Regions from separate parts of the Homo sapiens genome. Here regions 1, 3, 4 and 5 are each linked to region 2. Evidence: promoter capture Hi-C in 16 types of primary human blood cells and fetal thymus (Javierre and others, 2016). All regions are on one chromosome and are shown on one strand. Each heading gives the region's core, a stretch centred on a gene start or on the middle of the fragment in contact. The rest is flanking DNA. Distances are from core to core; before and after follow the strand shown.

Region 1 (4,415 bases), core at 550-3,049, 260 kb after region 2:
CTCTGGGATGTCCTGGGCCGAGGCTGAGAAGTACTGCCAGCTGAAGAACGCCCACCTGGTGGTCATCAACTCCAGGGAGGAGCAGGTGAGGGCTTCTGGTACTCAGTTCCTAAGACATGTCCCATTTAGGGAAATGGTTCTTAAGCTTGGCCGCACATTGGAATCATCTGGGAGCTTCCAGAATGACTGTCATCTGTGCCACACCCTCAGAGATTTAATAGGCCTGAGCATCCAGAGAAACATCTCCAAACTCCTCAGTTGATTTAACGAAGAGCTAAAGTTGAGAATCACTAGTTTAAGGAGTTGGCTGGGATGGGAAGAAGTCACCACTGCCCTTCTGTCACCGCAGAATTTTGTCCAGAAATATCTAGGCTCCGCATACACCTGGATGGGCCTCAGTGACCCTGAAGGAGCCTGGAAGTGGGTGGATGGAACAGACTATGCGACCGGCTTCCAGTGAGTGCACCCTGGCTTTCTGTGCCAATGTCCTCCGTCAGCGTTTCCCCCAGGGATCTGACTGGCAGCCTCTCCTCCCCTGAACTGAATTCTACTCCATCTACCCTTCCTAGCTTGCTGTTGTCTTTTCCTCTCAGGAACTGGAAGCCAGGCCAGCCAGACGACTGGCAGGGGCACGGGCTGGGTGGAGGCGAGGACTGTGCTCACTTCCATCCAGACGGCAGGTGGAATGACGACGTCTGCCAGAGGCCCTACCACTGGGTCTGCGAGGCTGGCCTGGGTCAGACCAGCCAGGAGAGTCACTGAGCTGCCTTTGGTGGGACCACCCGGCCACAGAAATGGCGGTGGGAGGAGGACTCTTCTCACGACCTCCTCGCAAGACCGCTCTGGGAGAGAAATAAGCACTGGGAGATTGGAAGCACTGCTAACATTTTGAATTTTTTTCTCTTTAATTTTAAAAAGATGGTATAGTGTTCTTAAGCTTTTATTTTTTTTCCAACTTTTGAAAGTCAACTTCATGAAGGTATAATTTTTACATAATAAAAATGCACTCATTTAAAGAGTAGAGATGACTTTGACAAATATGCATGCCTAGGTGACTACCACTCCGATCGCAATAGATAACATTGCCATCGCCCCCACCAGTCCCCTCATGCCTCTGGGCAGTCCAACCACTTCCCTGTTTCCAGGCCAGTGATCTACTTCTTTTTCACTATTTATTGGCCTTGCCTCTTCTAGAGCTTCTAGAACTTCATATAAGTGAAATCATACACTCTCGTGTATATACTTCATATAAGTGAATATATACTCTCGTGAGAACTTACGTACTTTGTGTTGCTTGATTTTTGGCAATCTAAAAATGGCAGAGTGGAGAAGCCAGGTGAAGCCTTCGAAAGTCCTATGTGATTGAGAAAATAGCATTTTCTTCTCATATAGATTTGAGTTCAAATCTTTTCTGTCACTTAAAGATGGTATAAACTTAGGGTGATTAGGAAAAGCCATTGTTTAATTTCTCTGAAGATCCCAGAGTTGTTGGGAGATGTAGATAAGATCCCCAGGTGTATTGGTTAGCAATTGGTGTGTAACAAACCACCTCAAAGCTCAGGGCTTATACAGTAAGCATTTATTATAGCTCATGAGGCTATAGGTCTGGTCTGGCCAGGTTTGGGTCATCTTGGCTGGGCTTGTTTATGCGTCCGTGGTCAGCTGGTGGGTTGGCTTGGGGTTGGCTGGTCTAGGGTAGCCTTGCTCCCATGTCTCATATTTGGCTGGCTCTGGGCTGGGACAATGGGGATGACTGGGCCACATTAGCTTAGCCTGGCCTTGTTCACAGAATGGCTGGGTGGGGGTCCAAGAGAGAAATTGGAAGACTGCAAGGACTTCAGAGCCTTGCTTGGAACTGAAGCATCGTTTTTGCTGCATCCTATTGGCCAAAGCAGATTGCAAGGCTGCCCAGGTTCAAGGGCCAGAGAAATAGATTCCACATTTTGGTGGGGGGTTGGGGGGGGGTCTACAAAGTCATACTGTGTAGAGAATGGATATAGAGAGGGGTGGAGATTTCTGTTTTTTCAATCAATCCAGCATATACCAGGGAAGCATCTCAGCTATTTTGATTTTTTTTTTTTTTTTTTTTTTTGAGACGGGAATTTCCTTCTTGTTGCCCAGGCTGGAGTGCAATGGCGTCATCTCAGCTCACTGCAACCTCCGCCTCCCAGGTTCAAGTGATTCTCCTGCCTCAGCCTTCCGAGTAGCTGGGATTACAGGAGCCTGCCACCATGTCTGGCTACTTTTGTGTTTTAAGTAGAGATGGGGTTTCTCCAGGTTGGTCAGGCTGGTCTCCAACTCCCGACCTCAGGTGATCAGCCCGCCTCGGCCTCCCAAAGTGCTGGGATTACAGGCATGAGCCACCACACCCAGCTGCATTTCAGCTATTAAGAACCAACTTTTTAAGTTCATTAAGGGATGGCAGGACCCATTCATTGCTGTATTACTGTACCCAGAAAGCTCCCTGGCATATAGGAATGTCTGAATTAGCTGTCAGGATTTGCTGATGGGTTGTCTGAGGGGTTTGGGAAAATGAGAAAGTCAAGGATAATTCCAGGTTTGGGGCTTGAAAACCTAGAAGGATGGAGTCCCAGTTAATTAAGATGGGAAGACCGTGTGAGAAGCTGGTTTTGTGGGTGGGATGAGGAGATAAGAAGCTTTATTTTGAACATGTTGAGTTTGAGGAGCCTGTTAGACTTCCAAATGGAGTTTATTCTTTTTTATTTTTCTGTGTACCATAGTAAACATTTATAATTTTATTCAAAGGGTTTTTTTTTAATCAGTTCCAGCAAGATACAGGTGTCAAAACCAAAGGATTTATTTCTCTTTCTCTCTCTCTACATATATATATAGAGAGACAGGTTCTTGTTCTGTCACCCAGGCTAGAATGCAGTGGTGCGATCATAGCTCACTGCAGCCTTGAACTCCTGGACTCAAGCAATCCTCTCTTCTCAGCCTCCTGAGTAGCTGAGACTATAGATGTGTGCCCCCATGCCTGGCTAAGTTTATTTTTTGTAGAGATAGGGTCTCACTATGTTGCCCAGGGTGGTTTCAAACTCCTGGGCTCAAGCGATTGTCCTGCCTTGGCCTCCCAAACTGCTAGGATTACAGGTATGAGCTGCAGTGCTTGGCCACAAAAGGGTTTATTGAAAAGAGTTTAATGACATTTACAGAGTGTGAGCAGGGTTGAGGAAGCCAACAAAAGTTGGTGAAGTCCCTGTGGCTAAGAATAGCAGAGACATCACCACTCTGAAGCCTGAAGGCACAAAAGTAAAGAACATCCACCCAGATCATCCACCCAAGCAGCTCTGTGCCTCTCTCCCCTGGGTCTGAAAGATTTTGGATCATGGGAGAGAAGCCACCCAGCAGGAGCGTGAGATCACAGTTCTACCAGGGCCACAGAATGTAGAGGGGAGCAGGAGAACCAATACAAGTCAGTTCCCTCTAGAATTTCCTGACCTGGTAATTCTGCTACCTAAGAAAGCAAACAATTACATTCTCTAGTTTTGTACAGGTAACTGGACGGCGGAGGCAGGGAGGGCATTAGGGAAAATATGGAGAGGGCGACTTTGTGTTATAGGTGGAAATAACTGGGAAGATGGATCACAGATTGAACTAGTTATTGGAGGAGATTGAAATGATCTCTCCACTGACTTCCAGATTGGGTTGGACAGCCCCAAACCAATACAATCCCAGTTCCAGCCCCAACTGCAGTCCCAATGTCGGCTCTAAATTCATCCCTAAATTCAATCTCTGTCCCCACTGCAGCTCCAGCCTAGCTGTACTACACCCCCATGCTCCATCCCACATGTTTCCAATCTCAGCCCCAAACTCAGACCCAACTCCAAAGGAGCCCTGTCTACAATCTTAGCCTGAGACCCAATCTGATTTTTAGCCCCAAGTAAGTCAACCCCATCCTAACCCCAGATACAACCCCAATTGTGATCGCTGTTTCAACCTCACCTGCAAACCCAGCCCCCAGCCACATTCCTAGTTCTCACGCCTGGCTCAGCCACTATCGAATCCTCACTTCCTACCTCAAAACCAGCTCCACACCCACCTCCAGCCCTTATTTCAGGCTCCCCCTCGGAGCCCTTTCTCTGCCTCCATCTCAGCTCCTGCAGCCACAGAGACCACTTGGGCCAAGGATGTCAATGAAGTATGAAGATCTCAAGTGCTTAGAGAGTGAGAAGGAACATGATCTTAGAAAAGGTATGACAGGCCAGGTGCGGCGGCTCACGCCTGTAATCCCAGCACTTTGGGAGGCTGAGGTGGATGGATCACCTGAGGTCAGGAGTTCGAGACCAGCCTGGCCAACATGGCGAAACCCCGTCTCAACTAAAAATAAAAAATTGGGCCGGGTGCAGTGGCTCACACCTGTAATCCCAGCACTTTGGGAGGCTGAGGCAGGCGGA
Region 2 (4,393 bases), core at 990-3,489:
TCCCAAAGTGCTGGGATTACAGGCATGAGCTACCCTGCGTGGCATTCAAAACAGTTTTTGTTGTTGTTTGTTTGTTTTTTGAGATGGAGTCTTGCTCTGTTTTCCAGACTGGAGTGCAATGGTGTGATCTCAGCTCATTGCAACCTCTGCCTCCCCGGTTCAAGCCATTCTCCTGCCTTAGCCTCCCAAGTAGCTGGGATTACAGGTGCCTGCCACCACACCCGGCTTATTTTTGTATTTTTAGTAGGGACAGGGTTTCACCATGTTGGCCGGGCTGGTCTCGAACTCCTGACCTCAGGTGATCTGCCCACCTCGGCCTCCCAAAGTGCTAGGATTACAGGCATGAGTCACCACTCCGACTCAAAACAGGTTTCTTATACCTTGTTGAGGCTGGGGATGGGGTCAGACTTAATGATAATCACAGTCCTGTGCAGCCACGGTTTATGGGGCACCTGCTCTTCTCCCGAAAGCCTGGAACCTCGGACTTCCCACTCAATTGCCCTCACCTACTCTAACTCTTCATTCTTAAGGCTCTGCCCCTTTCCTTCTGGCTCCCACCCTCAGGTGTCCTGAACCCTCCCGACTCTGGGCTGGCTGCCCGCAGAGCTGGGCTCCTTACTTCTCCACATTGGGGGATTTCTGCATCAAGTTGGAGCTGTTCTTTCGTAGGATGCTCCGGGGCCGGTCCTGTTGGGAGTTTTGGGGGTTCAAGCAAGTTGGCCCAGAGTGCGGACTGCACCCGGGGCTGTTTACCTCTTGCCCTGCAGGTCCCCCAGGCCCGGGGCTGGAAGCCCTGGATACACTGGTTCGAGGCCCGGGGATGTTGAATCCACCAGGGTTCCTGCCAGACCCAAGGCTGTGGTTCGCAGCCTCCCTTGGGTGCTGACTGGGCCCGGAACCAAGGACCACTATCCCCCCGGAGGGACAGCTTGAACCAGTACTATGAGTTACGGAGCCCCCTGAGTGCACGTGGGGCCCAGAACCGTGAAACAAGACTACTCTGGAGGGCTGCCCAGCGCCTGCCTCGACTCCTGTGACCGCTGCGGGCACTCCTCTGGCTGCCCCTCCAGGGGAATCCCGGTTGAGGCCGCCAGCAGCCCCTAGGGACTCCACCTTCTCCATGGCCCCACTGGGGGGCTGCTCTCAGCGATCCTGACCCGCCTCCCGGCTCCACGTAGCCCCGCCCCTGGCCCCGCCCCCACCGCTGCCGGCCGGGGATGCTCGGGCTCAGTCCCGGGTCCACTTCTCCCCTGCTCCAGAGCTGCGGCGGGCGGAATCAAGACTATATAGAGACTCGGGCTGGGGGTCCCTCCGCTCGCCCCTTTCCTTTGTGTCCCACCCAAAGATTTTCTTTGTCTGGGCAATTTGTTCCCGCCCTTCTCCATCACCACCCTCATCCAAACCAGCCAATCCCAGTCAGGGGGCCAGGCCAGGAGCTTCGACTGTGACCTCACGGTCCTCCAGCCTGAGCTTGAGCTTCGGGGAGTTGGGCAGGGGGCTTGTTAATAGCTCTAAGGGAGATCTTTTGGGGTCATCAACGCTGTCGCTTGAAACGGCCTGTCGGGACTTCTTTAGACTCTTTGTGGTCTTAACATGGAATAGTTTGGTTGAGTTGGAGTTGAAGCTGGGCTTGACTTGAACTATCAGCGAGCTTCCCCCACCCCCGCCAGTCGGCTAGCTCAGCCAATCAGAAGAGGTGTGAGGCAAAGTGGAAGGACTGCCGCACTGTTGCAAGACACTTCGTCCTCAGTCGGGTGGCGGGAAGAGACTTTCACTACCGCTTCTCTGGGTCCTCCAGACTCGGCTCACGCTGCTTTGGAGCCTGCATCCCGAGGGGAGACACCCCCTCTTGCCGTAAAGCGAGTGCTTCAAGGTGTCACCGCCCCCTAGCGAGGGCGGGGTCGTCGGTGCCGCTGTCGCAAAGCAGAAAGTGTTTGGGCTCCAGCACCCCACCGTCGTAAAGATGCCTGCGGTGGGCGTGTCTTTCTCCCACTGTCGCAAAAGCTCCCTGCCCAGGTCTTCGTCCCCCTCGGAGCCGCTCCGTCACCTCGCTATGCCGTAAAGCGAGGCTCCCGACCCCGTGTCCTTCTGTTCTCATCGTGGTCGTCCCCAGCTCCTAGCGCGGGCTGCTTCATTGCCCGGCAGTGCCGTAAAGCATACCTGGCCTCAGCCCCCCGGTCGTATCCCTCGGACTGTCTGCCCGACGCGGTTGCCACGGTGCCGCCAAGCGCGGCTGTCGCGCTGCCCCGGTGTCAGCGGAGATGGCGGCAGGGTCGGGTGGGAGTGGGGGCTCTGGGGGAGGCCCTGGACCGGGGCCGGGCGGGGGTGGGGGCCCCAGCGGGAGCGGCTCAGGACCGGGGTCCAACGGGGGTCTGGGCAGCGGCGGGGAACTGCACCCGCGCACTGGGCGCTTGGTGAGCCTGTCGGCCTGTGGGCGTACGGCGCGGCGGCAGCAGCCGGGCCAGGAGTTTAACCACGGGCTGGTGTTGAGCCGAGAACCCTTGCGCGATGGACGCGTCTTCACCGTCCGCATCGACCGCAAGGTGCAGCGCTGGTACCGCGGAACAGAGATGTGGAGGGTGGTGGGAGGCGTCTAGAGGGAGACGGGGTAGGACAGCCAGGGTAGCCCACATTGCCGGGCACCGAGAGGGAACAGAAAGACCATAGAGCACCAGGGGGCGGTCAGGAAGACAGCATGAAGCAGAAACATTGAGTTTGAAGATGACATTAAGAGCTTGAGTTTTCTCAAGATCCAGAACCAGGGAAGGGACACGAGGGCTAACCCACTAGAATGGCTGGGAACAGACCTCCTGGTACAATTTCTTGGGCATGGAGGATGGAGAGATGTCAGAGATGTGATGGCAAGTGAAGAAAGATGCCAAGGAACGAACAAACGTAATCCCAGCACTTTGGGAGTCCGAGGCGGGCGGATCACTAGAGTCAGGGGTTTGAGACCAGCCTGGTGAACGTGGTGAAACCCCGTCTTTACTAAAAATACAAAAATTGGCCAGGCATGGTGGCGTGCGCCTGTAATCCCAGCTACTCTGGAGGCTGAGGCAGGAGAATGGCTTGAACCCGGGAGGCAGAGGTTGCAGTGAGCTGAGATCATGCCATTGCACTCCAGCCTGGGCAATAGAGTGAGTGAGACTCCGTCTCAAAAAAACAGAACAAACCATTGAAGGACAGAGGCTGTGCCAGAAAGATAGGTGAGGAGAAAGATCCAGGGTGAGGGAGGTGTGTGTGATTCAGTGAAGAGGCCAGGCTCACAGAAAAAGAACTTGGAAGGAGATTGAATCTGGGTAGAGCCTGATCTTTGGAGAGAATTAGGCCAGGGGAAAGGAATGAATGATACACAAGAGCAAGAGGTGTGGGTATAGGAAGTAGGAGAATTTGGATGGTTGGAGAGCCATAGAGACAAGGAAAGTTAGAGGAGGCAGGAGGTTGGAACCAAGGAATTTGTGCTTGGCTTGGAAAGGAGTGGTTTAGTAAACACTGAGTAGAGAGCAGAGTTGCTAAAGGAAAGCCCAAATAATTACCAAGACGGAGTCCAGAAAATCACTGTCTGCATCTCTGGATTAGTGTTCCAAGAGACAGAAAGCCAGCTAGCTGTCTGAGAGGTGGGAAGATATGGTGGCCTGTGGAATGGGGGGTGGCCCATTCTAAGCCTCTGTCCAATACCCCTATCCCAGGTCAACTCCTGGAGCGGCTCCATTGAGATTGGGGTGACAGCGCTGGACCCCAGTGTGCTGGACTTTCCAAGCAGTGCCACGGGCCTGAAGGGGGGCTCGTGGGTAGTGTCGGGCTGCTCTGTGCTGAGAGATGGACGCTCTGTGTTGGAGGAGTATGGTCAGGACCTGGACCAGCTTGGTGAAGGGGACCGCGTGGGCGTGGAGCGCACAGTTGCTGGGGAGCTTCGGCTCTGGGTGAATGGGCGGGATTGCGGTGTGGCTGCCACAGGCCTGCCCCCTCGTGTCTGGGCCGTCGTGGACCTTTATGGCAAGTGCACCCAGATCACCGTGCTACCCCCTGAGCCAGGCTTCAGCCCCCCTACTCCCATCCCCACACCTCCCCTCGAGCCCTTGGCCCCCACTGAAGACTCTGCCTTGGCTGAACAGGGGACCTCTGCAGATGAAGGTGAGAACACAGCTAGGGCAGTGGTGGTGGGGTGGGGACGGAATGGGGGAAATAGAGTGACAAGACAGGCTGGGTGTGGGCAGGGCCACCCTGATCCCCAAGTCTGTTGAATGGGAGAGCAGGAGCTAGAGGATGGGGGGTTCTCCTGGCTATGGGCCGTGAAGCAGGGACTGAACCCTTATTCCCCTCCCATCCCACCTGGTCCCCAGCCTTCATGGTGTCCCCAGCGCAGGCCCGGCCGGAGACGTTTCCTAACAGC
Region 3 (4,547 bases), core at 2,013-4,512, 190 kb after region 2:
TGCTTTGCAATCTCTCCCAACCTTAAGAAGGTTCTTTGTAATCTCCCACAACCTTAAGAAGGTTCTTTGTAATCTCCCACAACCTTAAGAAGGTTCTTTGTAATTCTCCCCACCCATGTATACTTTGTGAGATCCACTCCCTGCCTGCAAAACATTGCTCCTAACTCCACCGCCTATCCCAACACCTGTAAGAGCTAGTGATAATCCCACCACTCTTTGCTGACTCTCTTTTCGGACTCAGCCCGCCTGCACGCAGGTGAAATAAATAGCCTTGTTGCTCACACAAAGCCTGTTCGGTGGGCTCTTCACTCGGACGCACGTGACACGGCCCAGAGTTTTACTATTTCTCAAATCAGTCTCCCAGCATTCAGAGATCAGAGTTTTTAAAGATAATTTGGCGGATAGGGGCTTGGGAAGTGAGGAGCGCTGACTGGTCAGGTTGGAGACGGAATCATAGGAGATCAAAGTGAGATTTTCTTGCTGTCTTCTGTTCCTGGGTGCGGTGGCAGAACTGGTTAGGTCAGATTATGAGTCTGGGTGGTGTCAGCTGATCTATCGAGTGCAGGGTCTGAAAAGTATCTCAAGTACTGATCTTAGGTTTTACAATAGTGATGTTATTCCCAGGAGCAATGTGGGGAAGTTCCGACTCTTAGAGTCAGAGTCTGCATGACCCCTAAACTACAATTTCTGATCTCGTAGCTAATCTGTTAGTCTTGCAAAGGCAGACTGGTCCCCAGGCAAGAAGAGTCTTTTCGGTTAAGGGCTATTATCAATTTTGTTTCAGAGTCAAACCACGAGCTGAATTCCTCCCCGAAGTTTGTTCAGCCCACGCCGAGGAATGGACAAGGACAGCTTAAAGGTTAGACGCAAGATGGAGTCGGTTAGGTCTGATTTCTTTCACTGTCATAATTTCCTCAGTTATAATTTTTGCAAAGGAGGTTCCATTGCCTCCCCAGTGACTGTGGATCTCGTCACACCTGCCATTGTAATCGGTCCTGATAGCTTCCGCCACCTTAGCCAGAGCTGCTTTGTCTTCCCAGTGAGCCTGTGTGAAGGTGACAGTCTTTTCTGGGGTCTTCCTGCAGACCAGGCATCTCCGTCCTGCCTTCCCCTGGATAACGCAGTAAGGGAACCCCACTGTAGGACACAGCGCAGACAGAGAGACAGCAAGCTCGACGAGAGTCACGTGCAGTCACCACCAGCTGAGGCTTCTTGTTCTCCACCAAGGTGCTGTCGGGGTTAACCCTGCTCGTGGGACAGTTGGGGTCTTCATGGAGATGCCCCCTTTGCCGGCAGCTTTCTTCTCTGCACGGGCCAATAGCCTCTGCTTCTTTTCTTGCCCTGTCTCTGGTCTGTACCATGGTCCAGCTGATGCAGTTGAGGAGCTGTTTTCTCGGTCCAAGGCCTGGATGAGTCGGTCACTTGCAGGAGGCACTTTCAGCTGCTCGTGGAGGTCAGCCGTTTGCCACTGCAACCAGATGTAGTTGGGCCATTCAACAATCAACAAAGCAGGTGAGGTCCCTTTTGGGCTGGATAGCCTGTTCAATGCCAGATTCTTAAGCCTTTTCTCAAATGCCGAAATTCTTTTTTTTTTTTTTTTTTTTTTGAGACGGAGTCTCACTCTGTTGCCCAGGCTGGAGTGCGGTGGCGCGATCTTGGCTCACTTCAACCTCTGCCTGCTGGGTTCAAGCAATGAGCAATGAGCCACTGTGCCCGGCCTCGACTGCCTTCTTATTTCTGCGATTGCCACCAGATGCTGCTGCTGCAAACAAGTCCCGCTCAGCCAGAGGCCACCCCTGCCGTGGCTGCGCTGTAGTCACCGTGGATCTGGCTATAGTTTGATGCAGTAATACGGGAGCTAAAAAGAAATTACTTAGGCAGTTGGTGAGGGTAAGAGAGTCCTCGGTAAGGCATCCCTTTTAACAAAAAGCAGCCCCCACATCATTTCTTTTCTAACAAAGAGCAGCCTGTAAAATCGAGCTGCAGACATTGACAGGCAAGCTGGAAGCTTGAACGGGTGAATGGCGGCAGCCGTGCCAATCGGAAAAGGCTACCTGGGGCCAGGCATGTTCAACATGGAGGCTTCATCTTCCCTTTTCCTTATCAACCACCTGTACAGTAAAGGAAGCAGCAACATGATGCCAACCAGGTAGAGAATCCATTTGCATAATAAAAGATTAGGGTGGGGCGGCCAGCTTCTTCTTGCACTATGTAAATGGCATACCTGGTCCCGCAATCTTTTGGGCTCTGTGTAAATCAGACACTGCCTGGCCGGGTGGGTGCGGCGGCTCTCGCCTATAATCCCAGCACTTTGGGAGGCTGAGCCGGGTGGATCACCTGATGTCAGGAGTTTGAGACCAGCCTGACCAACATGGTGAAACCCCGTCTCTACTAAAAATACAAAAATTAGCCGGGCGTGGTGTGCATGCCTGTAATTCCAGCTACTCGGGAGGCTGAGGCAGGAGAATCCCTTGAACCTGGGAGGCAGAGGTTGCGGTGAGCCGAGATCGTGCCACTGCACTCCAGCCTGGGCAACAAGAGCGAAACTCTGTCTCAAAAACAAAACAAAACAAAACAAGGCAAAACCTCCAAATCAGACACTGCCTCCTCAAGCTCACCTATAACACCCAGTGCATTTCACCTCGGAGCCAGAAGACCGACTTGGGAGCCCCTCCCTCTCTGCAGGAGAGAGAGCTTTTCTTTCTCTTGCCTATTAAACCTCTGCTCTTAAACTCACTCGTCGTGTGTGCCTGCATCCTCAATTTCCTTGGCATGAGACGATGAACCTTGGGTATTACCTCAGACAACGAGCTTCAAAAGCTTAATGGAACAGACCGTCTACCCCTGTTGTGCCCTGCTTAGCTCTGTCCCGGAAGCCACTAGGCACCTAGGCTGTGACAGTTTCAGTCTTTAACCCCCAATGACAGCTTGCTCAGGGCACACCCAGTCCCTCCTTAGTGCTGCTGAGCAACTGCACCGTGTCCTCGGGCTCCAGAGGAAAAAACACTTCAGTTCATAGCCCTGCTCAGCAGAGGTCCTCAAAGCACATCTTCTCAGCCTCTATCTGGTGAGGGGGCACCTTCAGCCTGTGCCAAACGCGGCTTCCCTCACAAACCCTACCAGGCCTTAGCACTGATACAGGATTCTAGGGACTGAATGTTTCTGTCCTCCCCACCCCGGATTCATAGGTGGAAGCCCTACTCCACAGTGTGATGATATTTGGAGGTGGGGCCTTTGGGAGATAATTACATTTAGATGAGGTTGTGAGGGTGGGGTCCCCACGATAGGATTTGTGCCCTTGTTGGAAGAGAAGGAGGCCAGAGTGTGCTCTCTCATCCACGTGAGGACACAGCAAGAAGGTGGCTGTCTGTAAACCAGGAAGTGAGCCCTCCCCAGACACTGGATCTGCCGGTACCTTCACCTTGGGCTTCCTAGCCTCCAGAACTGTGAGAAAGAAATGTTTTTTTTTTGTTTAAGCCATTCAGTCCGTGGTGTTTTGCAATGGCAGTGCAAGCTGACTAAGACACAGGGTCACTTGTTCTATTTCCTCTTCAGTCATGATGGGCTTCCCTCGGGCCCTTTGGTGCCTTTCCCCGTCAGTGGACTTCAGCTAGAGCCTCTGTTCATCACAGAGGTTCTAAGGACATTAGATCTCCAAAAGAAAGGGACTAGGGTCTCAAATTTCTTTGCTTCACAGAAGCTTTTTGGCCCCACCTTTCAGTGACCTGTCTGCAAACCAAAACTGGCAAAGAAGGGCAGTCTCCCCTGAGCCACTGGAGAAGTCCTGCCTCCCCTGCCTGGGGTAGGCGACGGCTGGCTTCCCACTTAAACAGTTAAGGGGAGCTGCTCAGTGCTTACAAAGTCATTTGCTAACTTGCCTAGACAAAGAAGTTATTAGTAACTTTTACATGTCAGCTTGGGTAAACAAAACAAGTTTAAGTTCCTGTAATCAGGCAGCATGTTTTTATTATTATTATTATTATTTTATTATTTGAGATGAAGTATTGCTCTGTCGCCCAGGCTGGAGTGCAGCGGTGCAATCTCGGCTCACCACAAGCTCCGCCTCTCAGGTGCACACCATTCTCCTGTCTCGGCCTCCGGAGTAGCTGGGACTACCGGCGTCCGCCACCACGCCCGGCTAATTTTTTTGTATTTTTAGTAGAGACGGGGTGTTTCACCGTGTTAGCCTGGATGGTCTCCATCTGCTGACTTCGTGATCTGCCCACCTCAGCCTCCCAAAGTGCTGGGATTACAGGCGTGAGCCACCGCGCCTGGCCACCATGTTTTATTATTAAAAGTTAATGGGGGCCGGGCATGGTGGCTCACGCCTGTAATCCCAGCACTTTGGGAGGTCGAAGCGGGCGCATCACCTGAGGTCAGGAGTTCGAGACCAGCCTGGCCAACGTGGTGAAACTCTGTCTCTACTAAAAACACCAAAATTAGCCGGGCATGGTGGTGGGTGCCTGTGGTCCCAGCTACTTGGAAGGCTGAGGGGGAAGAACTGCTTGCACTTGGAAAGCAGAGATTACAGTGAGCCAACATCGCGC
Region 4 (4,921 bases), core at 2,029-4,528, 150 kb before region 2:
CGCCCACCTCGGCCTCCCAAAGTGCTGGGATTACAGGCGTGAGCCACCGCGCCCAGCCTCAGAGAGGTTTTAAGGCAAGGAGCTGTGAACCCTGGCTCCTCCATCTCCTTAGTTTTTAATTTTCCAGCACCAGGGAGGAGTTCTTGGGATTGTCCCTGTGGAGTTTCAGGAATGTGTTTTTTCTGTGTGTGCTTCCACCTGGTGTTTTGTTGATGCTGTCCCCAGAGGCCGACACCAAGGCCTCTGCATTTATGTTCAAGTATACAGATGTGGATCTATCTGCTGGTGGGGACAAAGTACCCAGCCAGCTTCATGTGTTCATTTGCGCTGGTGGTCGTTCGTGTGTGCCCCGTATGCAGGGCCAGGGCCTTCTTTTTCCGCGGCCTGCTGAGCTTTCCTGCGCATTCCTGGAGAGGGTGTGTGTGTGTGTCCAGGGCTGGCCCTCTTTGAGTGTGCCGACCCTGGGTCTGTGAGTCCCACCGGGCCTGATTATGAGTCTGCCATGTCATGTCTGCACCCTGAGAGCCTGTGTGTTATGCTTTCAGGCAGTGTGCACCGCTGAGTGAAGGGCGTGCAGGAGGAAGGGCGGAGGGAGCCCTTTCCCTGGGGGTCGGTGGTCTTGCGCCCCTGCCGGGATGCTGCAGCCCGGCCCGCGCCCCGCTCGGTGTCCACCCGCCCGGTGGCCCAGCGCGGCGCAGTGTCATGCCGCGGGGGTCAGTCCTGGGGAAGGCCGTCGGGCGCTCGGAGCTTTGTGTCGGTGTCGGCTGCGCTGCGCCGGCCTCCTCTCGGCGGCGGCGGCGGCGGCGCTGGGGGGGGACTGTTTCCGGGGGTGGGGGTGGGGGTAGGACCGGGGCGGGGGGAGCCGATGATGTCAGCGGCGGCGGCGGCGGCGGCAGCGGGGCCGGGCCGGGGCCAGGCGCTGGGGGGGCCAGGGCCGGAGCTGGAGCCGGAGCCGGAGCTGGAGGCGGGCAAAACCGGAGCGGCCGGGGGCGGCCACGGTGATGAGCCGGGCCTGGCGGACGCGGCGCCATCGCAGTCAGGTGGGCCCTGGGGCGAACTGGGCAGGGCCAGGGCGGACCGGAGCCAACTGCCAGGCCCCCTCTCCGCTGCCCGGCGCTGCGGGAGCCCCGACCGCGCCCCGCGCCCAGACCGCTCTCCTTTGGGGTTGACCTGGGGGCGCAGGGGTCGGGGGCTGAGCCTGGCCCCGCCCCCGGGCGCGCACGACGCTGGGGGGCGACTAAGGGGGCCCTGGTATGGCGTCCGAGCGAGGGGCGGCCGTGGGACGCGATCGCCTGGGGCCGTGGAAGGGGAGGTGCTCACTCCCTCTTTGAAGGGTTAATTCTGCAGCCTAATGGCCCCCTCCCCCCGTGGGGCAGATTGGGGGTGGGGTGGGGCGGGTGTGAGCCCGGGCAAGCGCTGCAAGCTGCTGGGAGGGTGATGGCGTAGGAGCCAGGCAGAGAGGGGGAGGGGTGGGCCGCCGAGCGCCCCAGAGTTGGGGTGTGCGGGGTGCGCAGGGCGAGCTGGGGCCCCGGAACCGCCGCGCCGTCGGGGCAGGGTTGTGGCTGTGAGTCTTGGAGATCGTGTGTCTTGTGCTGTGTGGTGGGGCAAGGTAAACCTCTCCTGGGCACCACCGTTTGCTGGCAGCCAGGGGTCTGGGTAGGGCCCTCCCTGGGCCATGGAGATAGAAAGCCAGGAAGGGTGTCCAGTGTTGTGGGGCAGAGTTACAAGACGAGCCCTGTGGCTTTGGGTGACAGATGGGTATTCTGAGCAGGGCACAGCATGCTGGGTGCAGAGTTTGTTCGATGTGGGGCTGTATGTTTTCTACAGCATGTGTTTTCTCGCATGTGTGTCTTGTGCTGCACCTATGACCTGTTTATGAACTGTTTTCTGCAGAGCTGGCATGCTGTATGTGTTGCGGAGGGTGCCAGGATGCAGTGTATGTGCCCTTTTGGAGGGGGCGGTTGTGGGCCTTTGAGTCAGAAGGCGTCACGTCTGGGTCCCATTTCTGTGGCCCTGCTGAGGTGTGGTCCAGTGGTGAAGAGGGCGATGGATGGGTTTGCGTGTCTGTGATGAGCGCGTTGCATGGGGGCTGCGCGTCTAGAACTCAGATCCCAAAGATCATGAGAGGAGCGAGGAACCCCGGGGTATGTCTCAGGGGCCTGTGGGTCAGTTGGCACTGGTGTGAGGGGCTCGAGGTGGAATGCGCCAGTTGTGTTTATGGGATCATGGGCAGCCAAGCGAGGGGAAGGTTGTGTGTTTGCAACATTCTCCACAGGATTCTTTTGTGACGTTGTTTGTAGGAGCCTGTCTGGGCTGCTGAGCTGGGAGGCAAACTGGTCAGAAAACACATGTGGGGAGGGAGGTGGCGTGACAAGGGCAGTGTGGGCCTCAGACCCAAGAGGCCAGCCGCAAGCAGGCTGTGTGTGCGTGCCTGCCGTCTGTGTGCTTAAGTGGCGGTGGGGCTGCGGAGGGGATTTGGTATGAGGAAGGCGGGAGATAAATGCAGGGTAGCGCATGGAGGCCGGCGGGAGGCATGGGTGTTGTCAGATGGCCCAGCTAATCTTTGCAGGGTCTGTATGTTTGCCCCTCATGAGCCTGCCCAGCGTGTCAGGGTCACCCGGAGGAGAGGCTGGGCGGCCACAAGGGAAGTAAGCTTAGACAGAGAGGCTCCTTGGCCATGTTTATGTAAAGGCTGGGTGTGACTCTTGTCACTAAAATGGAAAAAAGAAACGTGAAGTTTTCAGCCTCCTCCTGCTTCACCCTCTCCCTCTCTCTGCCCCCCTTGTGGGTATCTCTGACGCACACTGGGCCCCACTCCTGCGACGGTGGAAGGGCCTCAGAACAGAATTCGCTCACTAGGCAGATTCCTCAGAACAGGTTTTCCTCACCTTTGGGGACTGGGCCCTTCTAGGGGTGTGTGTGCAAGTGCATTCCAAGCCTGCACACCACTGTCTACTGTGCCCGGCCCCACTGGAAGGATGTGTGTACGTGGGGGAAGGGAGGGTGCTGCGGACAGGCCCTCCGGCATGGGGGGCTGGGAAGGGGTGGCTGCCGTGGGAGCCTGCTCAACAGGTGCACAGTGACGGTCTGGTGAAGAGAAAGGAGCCATGGTCCAGGGCTGAGGAGCTCTGGCGTCTTTACCATTCCCTCACTGGCACTTGATCTGAAGGAAGCTCAGTTCCTCATCTGCAGAATGGGGCTGATTGTCTGCCCTGCGTATCTTCCAAAAGCACATGGGAAACGGACCCGGAAAGTGGCTATAGTCTGGGGGCTGTGCCTATGCCAGCCCCTGTCAGCCCTCCCCCAGGACTGGGAATTCCCTTCTTGGGGCTTCGCTGATAATAATGGCAGCACACACTTGCTTAGCACTGACCGTGCACCAGCCTGTCCTCAGGGCACTTATATGTGGCCACTCTGTCCTCAGAACAACACCCTGAAGTAGGCACTCTACCTCCCTTTTTCAAGTGAGGCAGCTGAGGTCCAGAGAAGTTAAGTAATCTGCCCCAAGTCACTTAGCTAGTAAGAGGTGAAGCTGTATTTGAACCCGGGCAATCAGGTTGAAGATCTTGTGCTCTTAACTACTGTACTCTGCTGCCTTCTGGAACATTCAGTGGATGGTCCTTTCTGTGCAACTCCCTCCAACACTCTTCTCCCCAGTTGCTGCAGAACTTAGCATTTGCAGCAGTCCATTTCAGAAGACCCGGATGCTCAGGGATCCCCAGCTGAGGGCATGAGAACCTGAGTCTCTGCTGCTGTGTAAGGTGGATGCTGGCCATAGGAGCACAAAAGGTTGATGAGTCAGAGGAAGGAATGATCGTTCTCATCCTGTGGATCAGGGAGGGCCAAGAAGGAGGTGGCCTTGGAGTCAGATCTTAACGTTTTGGAGGGATTTTGACAAGCTTGGGGAAAGAGCATTTCTGGCAGAACAAGCCAGCACAGGCAAAGGCATGAAGGTGTGGGTCATGTAGAAGCTGGAGAGCACACTGGGTGTCTGGGGTTTTGTTCATTTGTTTAGAAACTGGGTCTCAATATATTGCCCAGGCTGGACTCAAACTCCTGGGCTCAAGCAATCCTCTAGCTGCAGCCTCCTGAGTAGCTGGGACTATGGGTATCTGCCATCACGCCTGGCTCACGCTGAGTACTGTGTGTTTGAAGAGGATAACACAAGGCAAGATTAAAAAGGAAGATTGGAGCTAGACCAGAGCCCTTGACTGCCTGGTAGAAGAATTTGAACTTTCTTCTAGAGTCAGTGGGGACCAGTGGAGGTTTTGAGCCCAGGAGTGATAGTCCTGAACTGTGGTTAGGGACGTTGACCCTCAGGGGGAGGAGGGCTGGATGGAGGAAGGTAAGCCTGGAGGCCAGGGGATAGCTGGGAGGCCATAACCTTGGACCACGTGAGTGTTAACAAGGACCTGAGCTATCGAAGGGAAGATTTCCAGAGCCATTCCCAAGCTCGGCGGCGATTTCAGCCACACTTGATGACTGCTGGATGTGGAAGTGAGGGAAAGGGTGGAGTCAGACATGACACATTTAGCACTTAGCACGTGAGACCTTGTGCGGTGGTTTATGTAACCAGCTGGCGGGCCATAGGCCTCTTCAGGGCCAGGTCTAGCAGTATGGCAGAGGGAAAGATTGAGCATCTGGGGTCAGCTGGGCCTGGATTCGAATCTTGACTGCTGCTTACAAGCTGTGCGACCTCGAGTAAGGTATATCCCTCTCTGAGCCTCGGTTTCCTCTTCTGTAAAATTAGAATAATATGGCCGGGCGCAGTGGCCCATGCCTGTAATCCCAGAACTTTGGGAAGCCAAGGCAGGTGGATCACCTGAGGTCAGGAGTTCAAGACCAGCCTGGCCAACATGGAGAAACCCTGTCTCTACTAAAAATAAAAAAACTAGCTGGGCGTGGAATCCCAGCTACTCTG
Region 5 (4,308 bases), core at 987-3,486, 170 kb before region 2:
CATCCTGAGGCAGGAAGTCAGAATCATCATGGTCCAGCCACCACTGCCAGCGCTCGGCAGGAACGTACCAGGCACACAGCACAGCTCTCATCCTCACACCACCCCAGGAGGCAGGACTGCCCACTATCATTTATAGATTCAGAAACACGTTTGTGGCCTTTAACCATGTGAAAGGACTCATTAAAGATCATACAGCTAGTAAGTAGCAGGGGAATTTTCAAACCCAGGTCCATCCACCCATCCCCACCTACAGGTCTTCCTCCCTTTAGACACCTCGCCCTCCAGCTAAGAGGCAGAGCCCTGGAGCCACTGACCTGGTTACGGGCAGAGCCCTGCATCACAACAGCAGGCCGCACGGAGAGCGGGGGCACAGGCAGCACTGTGACAATCATCCACTCTGGCCGTGCATAGCGGGGCTCCATGCCCAGCACAAAACACTCCTCATCTGAGATGCGTTTGAAGATCTCATGCACTCGCTCTGGACTCAGCAGGATCTTCTTCTCCTGAGAGTCCTCATTAACGTGCTTCCATTCCGCATACAGCTCTAGGCCAGAACGCCGGATCCTGGGCTGGTACCGCCCACAGCCACCATGGCCCTTCCAAGGAGAGACAGGGGCCATCAGAGCCCAGAGGGTGGGCCATTTCCCTCCACACCAGGCCAGCCCCTCCTGTTTCCTTCCCTTCCAGTTTCCTCCCTCCAGGCCTCTGACCCCTCCTTCCCAAAAGTCTCCGCCAGCCCCAGCCACCTTTTCTTTGGTCAGATCCTCGTCACCCTCAGGTTGTTCCACACCGAACTTGTTGTCCATCTCCTCCCCACCCTCGCATATGTTTTTGCCCTTGCAAAGGTCGTAGACATGTGTGAGCCGCTTCTTGGGCTGTCCCTTGGACTTAGCCAGGATATCCTTGATCTTTGGGTTGTTCTGGGGACAGGGCAGAGCAGGGTCAGTTGAAGCTGTCCCCCTGCCCCCTACCAAGCACCCCCGCTCCCAGACCAGAGCCTGTTCCCCACTCACAGAGTCCACAAGCAGTTTGGAGCAGAAGAAGCAGACACAGCGCAAAACTTTCATTGTCTTCACCAGGAAGCCCACGTGAAACACAGGCTTGGCCAGTTCAATGTGGCCAAAGTGGCCAGGACACTCTGTCATGTTTCCTGTGGGACACACACCCAGTGCTTTCCTCCCAGCTCCCACTCATCTCAGAGGCCTCCAGGTGTCAACCGTCAGCCCTAGTTTTGAGGACCCAACCCACCTCCCCTTTGGGATCCCACCTGGCCCCCCAGCACTTACCTGCACATGTTTGGCAGCGGCCAGTCCGCTCAATCACCCCCTGCCTCGGGTCCATCAGCCCCCCAAGCTTGGGGCGGCCTCCCTCAGTCGTCTCTGGGTATTTGATGCCACCCTCCGTCACAGACATTCGCTTCTGCAAAGAAAGAAAGGCCAACAACTGAACAGCGTTCCTAGTTTCTAGCCTTTGTGGCTGGGGAGCTCTGGACTAAGGTCTGGGAAAACCCTGAACTACTTACAGAAGAACTAAGTTTAGCCTGGAGTGAGGGGAATGGGGGATTGGTGTGTGTACACTTCTGAAAAGGCCAAAGTTGAATATCCCAAGTCAGAGGCTTATTCCAGTCACTGAGGCAGGAAAAGCACTCACACTAGATAATGGTCGATCCTGGGTTCCATACAAATCACCTGCTACTGGGACATGAACCCCAGACTTCCATCTGGGTTGAATTCTAGGTCTCTGACATCCATAGGATTTAGCCACAAAAAGAAATCAAAGTTGCTTCAGGAAAAACAAAAAAACAAAACAATGCTTTATTTGTTCCTCCCAAGCAGAAATCAAGCTCATGAATCTGAGATCCTGGCAGAAGCCTCTCTGTACCTGTACCCTCGCCATGACAGCCCAGGTGTTCTGCACCAAGACATGCCCCGCCAACTCAAGCCCCTGATAAGAAACGAGGCACTCAGAGATGCAGCCCTGTTTCTTTTCCCTCATCTTTGTCATGCCCTCCTTCTCAAGGCCTGAACTGCTTGAACCCTTTCGTGTCCAGATGGAGATTTTATTATTGGTTTTGTTTTGTTTTGAGATGGAGTCTCGCTCTGTCGCCAGGCTGGAGTGCAGTGGCGCAATCGCAGCTCACTGCAACCTCTGCCTCCCGGGTTCAAGTGATTCTCCTGCCTCAGCCTCCCAAGTAGCTGGGACTACAGGTGAGCGCCACCACATCGAGCTAATTTTTGTATTTTTAGTAGAGACAGGGTTTCACCAGGTTGGCCAGGATGGTCTCTTGACCTCATGGTCCACCCGCCTCGGCCTCCCAAAGTACTGGGATTACAGGCGTGAGCCACCGCGCCAGGCCAGAGATTTTATTAAAAGACTGGAGAAACAGGTGCTAGAAAAACAGGTTGGTGGAAATGATTTGAAGCAAAAGTGAATAGCTGGAATCCCAAGAAAGGAAGAGCCAGGACTTGATGGGGACATTTCAATGAAGGAAAGGAGGAAACAGAAGAACTCAGAAGTAGATGGGCCGGGTGCGGTGGCTCACACCCGTAATCCCTGCACTTTGGGAGGCTGAGACGGGTGGATCACCTGAGGTCAGGAGTTTGAGACCAGCCTGGCCAACATAGTGAAACCCCATCTCTACTAAAAATACAAAAAAATTAGCTGGGTGTGGTGATGGGTACCTGTAATCCCAGCTACTCGGGAGGCTGAGGCAGGAGAATCACTTGAACCCAGGAGGCGGAGGTTGCAGTGAGCTGAGATCGCACCACTGCACTTCAGCCTGAATGACAGAGCAAGACTCCGTCTCAAAAAAAAAAAAAAATTGTAATGCTATTGTACACTTAGACTTAGTAGACTACAGCATAGTACTAATGTAACATGCACAATGGCAACCAAAAAACTCCATGTGACTTGCTTTATTGCGGTGGGCTGGAACCAAACTCACAGTATCTCCAAGGTATGCTTGGATACTCATTCTCAACTCTCTAATTCCAGGCCTTACTTTTCTTCTGGACTTTGGGTTCACGTATGTGACTACCTACTGAACCCCCTGCAAACATCACACCAAAAAATCAAATTAAACATGTTTAAAAGCAAACTCTCTTTTCCACAAAAGCTTCTCTTTTTCCTTTAGTCTCTATCCCAGATTCAGAAACCTATGCTTACCTTTCCTTACCTTCAAGCACAAAACAGTCCAAAGAACATGGACTTAGCTGTCGGGCACCCTTGCTTTGGAATTCTGCCTATATTACTTATGAACTATGTAACCATTAAGGACTTAATTAGCTTGCTTAAGTCCAGGATGTAATTGGCGCTTTATGAATGGACATTATTATTATTCAGTCATTCACCAGGTACTGGTCACTTTTACCTCCCTTTTTTTTTTAAGAAGTCTTGCTCTGTCACCCAGGCTGGAGTGCAGTGGCGGGAATCTCAGCTGGGTTTACACACATAAGCCACCACGCCTGGCCTCCTAAGTGTTTCTTGAATCTTGCCTCTCTTCTCCATCCCCACCACCATTGCCCTAGTTCAGGCCCTTCCTTTGTAGTCTACAACAGAGCGTTCCTATGGGTCACCAGCCTGTCTCTCTCCAATCCTTCTACATTACAACTGGGGTGCTCATTCTAAAATAAAAATGTGTGCTAAAAATAAATAAAATAAAAATTAATAATAAACTAAAAATGTAATCATTCATACCCTCTTGTCCTCAGACTGACATCCAAACTCAGCAGGACAGCTTCCCAAAAGGATTTTATGATGTTCTCAACCTTCATTTCCCTGATGCTCCACACCTTCCTGTTCACTCCTCAGTAACAATTCCCTGGAGTCGCCTATCACATCCAGCGCAACACGTGCTGCGTTCCTCCGGGGTTTTCTATATGCTAGTGCCTCTCTGCTTGGAATGCTCTTCCCACTGCAAAACTCCTATTTCAAGACTCGGCTCAGGCACTGCTTCCTCCAGGAAGCCTTTCCACAGCCTGCCCAAAGTAGACAGGCACCCCTCCTCTGTGCTTCCACAGCCCTCTATCACTGCACATACAACAATGCAATAAAATGACCTATGGGGGTCTGTCTTCCCTATAACTATAAGCACCTCTCAGGCAGGCAGAATGCCTCAACCATCCTGAATCCCATGTGCCTGCCTGAAACATGGTGGGCTCCTAACAAATGTCTGTTAAATTGACCTACTGCTTAGGACTCTCCACTGGAGGGAGGTACCCTCAAAAAACTTGGAAAAAGAGAGGTTACCCTCTGACAGTCAAACCAGTAATCCCCTCATAATAGGTCTGATTGGCCACTGCTGGGTAG

What was found. Contacts are between HindIII fragments. The CHiCAGO score rates a contact against its expected background, and 5 or more counts as called.
Region 1: a fragment that was not itself captured here is called in contact with the fragment with the promoter of NEURL4 in region 2 in 1 of 17 cell types (monocytes); the score reaches 5.3 in monocytes.
Region 3: a contact is called between a fragment that was not itself captured here and the fragment with the promoter of NEURL4 in region 2, in 1 of 17 cell types (M0 macrophages). The highest score is 6.9, in M0 macrophages.
Region 4: a fragment that was not itself captured here is called in contact with the fragment with the promoter of NEURL4 in region 2 in 11 of 17 cell types (naive CD4 T cells, total CD8 T cells, naive B cells and 8 more); the score reaches 8.2 in naive CD4 T cells.
Region 5: a fragment that was not itself captured here is called in contact with the fragment with the promoter of NEURL4 in region 2 in 11 of 17 cell types (total CD8 T cells, fetal thymus, activated CD4 T cells and 8 more); the score reaches 9.0 in total CD8 T cells.

What each region holds. Positions count from the first base shown.
Region 1 is chr17:7,071,401-7,075,815 of GRCh38, reverse strand. It overlaps CLEC10A (C-type lectin domain containing 10A), which reads left to right. Exons shown (of 9, transcript NM_001330070.2): 7 at 1-85; 8 at 350-456; 9 at 594-1,279. The coding sequence ends at 762. Among named protein-coding and RNA genes, the nearest start is that of CLEC10A, 6.6 kb to the left of the region's middle. The HindIII fragment of the contact is 1,720 bases long and covers 940-2,659 here.
Region 2 is chr17:7,327,181-7,331,573 of GRCh38, reverse strand. NEURL4 (neuralized E3 ubiquitin protein ligase 4) reads left to right here and starts at 2,239. Exons shown (of 29, transcript NM_032442.3): 1 at 2,239-2,543; 2 at 3,690-4,134; 3 at 4,344-4,393. The coding sequence starts at 2,262. RefSeq lists enhancers at 805-954, 1,835-1,884, 1,915-2,094, 2,030-2,324, 2,307-2,966 and a silencer at 2,295-2,534. The HindIII fragment of the contact is 8,367 bases long and covers 1-4,393 here.
Region 3 is chr17:7,137,989-7,142,535 of GRCh38, reverse strand. It overlaps LOC105371512 (a long non-coding RNA gene), which reads right to left. Exons shown (of 3, transcript XR_934191.3): 3 at 1,773-1,858. It overlaps LOC124903910 (a long non-coding RNA gene), which reads left to right. Exons shown (of 2, transcript XR_007065600.1): 1 at 1-61; 2 at 93-287. It also overlaps the pseudogene RPL7AP64. Among named protein-coding and RNA genes, the nearest start is that of ASGR2, 25 kb to the right of the region's middle. The HindIII fragment of the contact is 880 bases long and covers 2,823-3,702 here.
Region 4 is chr17:7,475,575-7,480,495 of GRCh38, reverse strand. ZBTB4 (zinc finger and BTB domain containing 4) reads left to right here and starts at 865. Exons shown (of 4, transcript NM_001128833.2): 1 at 865-1,040. RefSeq lists silencers at 509-768, 789-1,248, 1,509-1,558. The HindIII fragment of the contact is 1,246 bases long and covers 2,656-3,901 here.
Region 5 is chr17:7,493,052-7,497,359 of GRCh38, reverse strand. POLR2A (RNA polymerase II subunit A) reads right to left here. Exons shown (of 30, transcript NM_000937.5): 2 at 1,287-1,419; 3 at 1,014-1,150; 4 at 747-920; 5 at 315-596; 6 at 1-4. Among named protein-coding and RNA genes, the nearest start is that of POLR2A, 11 kb to the right of the region's middle. The HindIII fragment of the contact is 1,762 bases long and covers 1,356-3,117 here.